Linked DNA regions of Homo sapiens: region 2 is linked to region 1. Evidence: promoter capture Hi-C in 16 types of primary human blood cells and fetal thymus (Javierre and others, 2016). All regions are on one chromosome and are shown on one strand. The core of a region is centred on a gene start or on the middle of the fragment in contact, and the rest is flanking DNA. Distances in the headings are between cores, read along the strand shown.

Region 1 (2,790 bases), core at 106-2,605:
CCTGAAAAGTACCACCAGTCTTTGGTGACTTTGATTCCATTGGTTGGCCTCTTCAGCTTAGATGCTAAGGACCAATCCAGTTACTTGTCCAGTCTATCTACCCTGGCTCTGGTAATCCACCCTCATTCCTATCAAAGTAAGTGCCACTACATATAATGCCTACTGATTTTGACTTCCTTAGAGGCAGAAACGATGGGAATTCAAACAGTGGAGCTGGAGACTCACATTTGACTCTCCCTACCATCTCCCTGGGCATCTTTGTCAAGAAGGAAGGCTTGCCCACACTCACTTCCCGCAGGCTTTCTCAGCCATCTTGGAGGACTTTGTTTAAACAGATGACCAACTGACCCTCCCCAGGGCAGACCCTCTACAGACCAGTAGGCACAAGGTGTGTGTGTGGGGAGGTGGGGGGAGAGCTCATTGTAAGGACTCCTATCTATAAATGATTATGAATAGAAATAATGAGGCAAAGGCTTCTCGTCATACTCAGAGGAAAAAGTGGCACAACTTAGTGCAGTCTCAAAGATTAATTAGGATGTGTGTATGGAGACGGGTAGGCTTCATTATGGCTTAAACTATCACGTCCCTACACATTCACACTCTCTTGGAGTGGGGTGCACTGCAGGGCCCAGTAATCACCATGAACAGCACAAGTCAGGGTAAGCCCTCCCCATGTCAGACAGTACAATCGTTCTTTAATCCACTCTGTACCCCATATGTATCTGTGGAGCCTGATGAAGCCCCGGAGGGATCTCAGTCAAGTCTCCCTGCACACAGACATACCTTTTTGCCACACTGGATCTCACACCACCGGGACTTGGATGGCTTCCCAAACTAGGTGGGTTTGGAAAGCATTTCCCCTCTCCACCTCAAAAAAGGGCTGGCTGACTGCAGAATTCCAGTACCCGCAAGAGGGGGAAAAAACCCCAAAAATCTTAGCCAAGCCCCAAATCATTGCCTTCCTGTGTCTTCTCTCAAGTTGCTTTTCTAAAGCAAAGGTCCAAACGTTGATTTCTCTACAGATTCCTACGTATCTCTTACACGTAGACAGTTTTAAAGGGGAAAAGAATATATCCCCAAAAGGCAAGGGGGAGAGCACAGAACATTTCAGTTTCCCACTTGGAAATATCTTGTCGTGGATGATGCTACCCCTACCTCCACCTCCCTCCCCCCTCCTTTTTTTTTTTTTTTTTTTTTTTGAAATATGGACAAAAAAGCTGAAAGTGTTTTCCGTTTCATCAAAAAACATATATTACTTTAGTGGTTCGGTAAAATGTTGGTTTTATGCCCACCCCTTTTCAATCTGCCCATGTCTGAGGTGCTCGGGGAAGACGCACAATCGTGAGCAGCTTACGACACTCAGTGAGCAGTAGGTGCCTGTGCAAGCTCGCGCCGCACACTGCCTGGTGGAGGGAAGGAGCCCGGGCGCCGCTCGCCGCTCCCCGCGCCGCCGTCCGCACCTCCCCACCGCCCGCCGCCCGCCGCCCGCCGCCCGCAAAGCATGAGTGAGCCCGCTCTCTGCAGCTGCCCGGGGCGCGAATGGCAGGCTGTTTCCGCGGAGTAAAAGGTGGCGCCGGTCAGTGGTCGTTTCCAATGACGGACATTAACCAGACTGTCAGATCCTGGGGAGTCGCGAGCCCCGAGTTTGGAGTTTTTTCCCCCCACAACGTCACAGTCCGAACTGCAGAGGGAAAGGAAGGCGGCAGGAAGGCGAAGCTCGGGCTCCGGCACGTAGTTGGGAAACTTGCGGGTCCTAGAAGTCGCCTCCCCGCCTTGCCGGCCGCCCTTGCAGCCCCGAGCCGAGCAGCAAAGTGAGACATTGTGCGCCTGCCAGATCCGCCGGCCGCGGACCGGGGCTGCCTCGGAAACACAGAGGGGTCTTCTCTCGCCCTGCATATAATTAGCCTGCACACAAAGGGAGCAGCTGAATGGAGGTTGTCACTCTCTGGAAAAGGGTGGGTAAGACACTTTTTAATTAAATTCTTTCCCGAAGATTTTTTTTTTCCTCCCTTTTCTTTGCTGCAGCATCTAACATGGACCAAATCACCATCTCTTTGATCTTTCCGTGGCTGTGAACTTTCTATGCTGCCCAGCTTTCTGCATGCTTAGAGGTGAACGTGTGGTTTTTGGGGAGGGGGGTCCTTCTTTATTTCTATGTATTTATTTGATTTTTTGCCCTTTTCTCCCCCTCCCCCGCTTCCCCTCCCTCGGAATAAAATATGATGTAGATTTCTGACCGAGCGCTTCCAATGGACATTCTCCAGTCTCTCTGGAAAGATTCTCGCTAATGGATTTCCTGCTGCTCGGTCTCTGTCTATACTGGCTGCTGAGGAGGCCCTCGGGGGTGGTCTTGTGTCTGCTGGGGGCCTGCTTTCAGATGCTGCCCGCCGCCCCCAGCGGGTGCCCGCAGCTGTGCCGGTGCGAGGGGCGGCTGCTGTACTGCGAGGCGCTCAACCTCACCGAGGCGCCCCACAACCTGTCCGGCCTGCTGGGCTTGTCCCTGCGCTACAACAGCCTCTCGGAGCTGCGCGCCGGCCAGTTCACGGGGTTAATGCAGCTCACGTGGCTCTATCTGGATCACAATCACATCTGCTCCGTGCAGGGGGACGCCTTTCAGAAACTGCGCCGAGTTAAGGAACTCACGCTGAGTTCCAACCAGATCACCCAACTGCCCAACACCACCTTCCGGCCCATGCCCAACCTGCGCAGCGTGGACCTCTCGTACAACAAGCTGCAGGCGCTCGCGCCCGACCTCTTCCACGGGCTGCGGAAGCTCACCACGCTGCATAT
Region 2 (2,790 bases), core at 196-2,695, 210 kb before region 1:
CCAGGAAGCAGAGCCAACCAAATTCCAGGTTTAGGCAGAAACTCAACAGAATATAACTTCTGTGCATTTCAACATGTCTAATATCCATGATGTATATGTTGGGGCAGGGGTATCATCCATCATCCTCTATCCATAAAGACAAGAAGGACATGGAATGTTCTTGGACAGTTGGAGACGTCCCAGTGTAATAACCAAAATCTGTGCTTCTGTGGGTGTAGGAAGAAGGGGAGAACTTGACAGATTGGGGAAATGATGTTCCAATACCAGAAGACCAGACTGATCCAATTATTCCATTATAACATTCCACATCCACTAGAGATCATCAGCTCACTCTGCTTTTAACTAAATAATATTTCATCATTTACTTAACTGAATATGAAAAATATGCTTGAAGAATCACCTCAATAATCCATTGAGATTTCAAATTGTCAAATCACAGATCAAATTCAAAGCTTTTAATATAAATGTCTTTGAGTGAAGGACAGCATTTCCAGCTATCTGCAGTCTAATGGCAAGTCTGGTGTCTTGCCTTGGAGCAAATGCTTGCATTTACTGCCCGTCACCTGAAGGTGTTTTACTTGTAATCCCTAGAAATAGCATACTTTAGGGATGTGAATTCTGGCAAATATCTGGTTAGTGTGATCCATACTGACAAGCCAATGTTTTCAATACACTCTGATCATAAAATGAGTTTCCTGGATCAGTAAAGTAATCATGCAGACCAAGTTTAGGCAACAAACAGTAAAATAAATATTGTCCAGAAAATGACTCAGTGTTGATGCAATGCAAAAAGCCTCCAATGTTATTAAAACGATTTGGGGTTATGTGGCCCAAAACTTGTCCTGAGCACCATTTTGTGGCAGGATTCCCCAATATTACTCTCGGCTCTAGACATTCTCTCTACAAGTTCCTCAATGAACACTTCCTTGACATCACCCATCCCCTAGGAATGTTCCTTGCCTGGCAAAAGGTATACAGTTACACAAGATTAATAGACGCCTGTAAGTGGTCCTGTCATCCTTTAACTCAAAGGAGTAACTCCTACAGATAAGGTCAAGGACTGGGGCCAGCAGAACAGTGCACAGCTGGGCCCCAGGGCAACTTACATACTTCCTCCATGGCAGCAGCAGACCACTGTGATTACAGACAAGGCAAATTCTTGGTGGGAAGAGTGAAAGCAAGGCACCCTTTGCAGTGCCCCTGAGCAAATCCATCCGTGGTCCCCACCTTCCCCAATCATTACAAGTTAACTGCTCCTTTTCCTCCTGATACTGCTGATGGGAAATGAGCCTCCAGGGCTGACAGCCAAAAATTAATTTGATCGATTTATTTTGTGTTCCATGTTTTGGGTGCAAATGCTTTCCTCCACCCTGATGGAGCACACTTATGCTCTCCCATTTGCAGAAAACAAATTTATAGTGCCTAACTGAATTCTTTCGCTGAAGGTCAGAAACAAATGTTCCCATCCATCTCTTTTTACCTTTCTGTGCAGCACCAAGTTGCCTTCCTTCTTCATTTCAGACAAACAGGAGGATTGTTTTCTGGGGAGGGGTGGGGTGAGAGAAAGCAATTGGAACTTAGAAGTTTCTACCAAAAACAAAACTTAACTTACCCCTCATGAGAGGAATGAAGCAAAGAAATAAAAATCTCTTCTGATTTCACATGGAAGAGAAAACTTCAGTTATGCCTTAACTCAAGTAAAAAGAACACCATTAGGTAAGGACTATTAATTTACCGTTGTTAGAAAAGTGGAATCTGGCACTTAATTTGTCTGTATTTCTTGCTCACTTGAGACCAAATTCTGTCCTTGGCAGGTAACTTCCAAAGACTACAGAGAGAACTAAACATAGATGATCAGGACTGTGAATGGTTAATCCTGTTTTCTCAGGGTATAAACTAACTCTGCATTAAGATGAATAGTTTTCAGGTGTTGCTTAACACTAAAAAAGTTCACATGTTCCTGAGAAAGAAAAGTTGATATTCTCAGCCCCTGCCACGTGCTTAACCATGTTTGAAAAATGACCTCCTCCCCTCAGCCAGAGTTAATCTTGGACCTATTTGAGGTGCTTTGAGGACCAGATGGGGAGCATTAATGGGGAGAGGCAGAGCTGTGTAGGGTGAGACAAGTAGGAAGCTCATTTGCAGCCAGTCACCCTGGCCTGCACAGGTACCCAGCTGAGGCAAAACGGTAAGGACCGCATGGAAATCACATAGCTTCTGCGGCTTTTATGTAAATAGCATCCTACATATGGGTAACAAACACCATTCTGTTATCTTCCATCTCTCTGCTTCTGCCCTGAGAAAAAAACCCAATGTTGCTTAGATATTCATGGCATGAGGTGGCCAAAGGCAAGATGCATATTAGCCAATCAGCTCAGTCTGGACACAAAGGCTTTCCTGAGCACATCCCCTTCCTGCCCCAGAGATGTTAAGCTTGGGTGGCTTCACACACTCTGCCTCAGGGAGATATGTTCTGCATAATGAATCCCACTGTTGTCCGTAATGAGAAGGAGGTCATCTATACACTTGACCTGAAAGGAGTAGAGAAAGAGAGAGAGAAGAGACAGAATAGTGTGAAAGAGAGGTGGATAAGGAAAAACACACCCAGACCTTAGCAAAAACCATCAAAACTGGTTCCTTTGATCTGGATTTGGGCAAGTTTTTGTCCCATCTGTAAGGATGAAACAGACATGCAATTCAGTGATACTGAGGCTTTTGCCATTCATATGGAATCTGAAGCCTCAATTGATTTCGGCTGAAGCCACCAGACCTTGGCCATCATCCCCTTCT

The links. The method cuts DNA at HindIII sites, captures the fragments that hold promoters and counts their contacts. A CHiCAGO score of 5 or more calls a contact.
Region 2: a contact is called between a fragment that was not itself captured here and the fragment with the promoter of LRRTM1 in region 1, in 1 of 17 cell types (endothelial precursors). The highest score is 5.3, in endothelial precursors.

The regions. Positions count from the first base shown.
Region 1 is chr2:80,303,317-80,306,106 of GRCh38, reverse strand. It overlaps LRRTM1 (leucine rich repeat transmembrane neuronal 1), which reads left to right and starts at 1,355. Exons shown (of 2, transcript NM_178839.5): 1 at 1,355-1,955; 2 at 2,229-2,790. The coding sequence starts at 2,288. The region is part of intron 7 of CTNNA2 (catenin alpha 2); the gene reads right to left. RefSeq lists an enhancer at 1,913-2,538. The HindIII fragment of the contact is 8,902 bases long and covers 1-2,790 here.
Region 2 is chr2:80,515,770-80,518,559 of GRCh38, reverse strand. All of the region lies in intron 9 of CTNNA2 (catenin alpha 2), which reads right to left. Among named protein-coding and RNA genes, the nearest start is that of LRRTM1, 210 kb to the right of the region's middle. The HindIII fragment of the contact is 1,981 bases long and covers 455-2,435 here.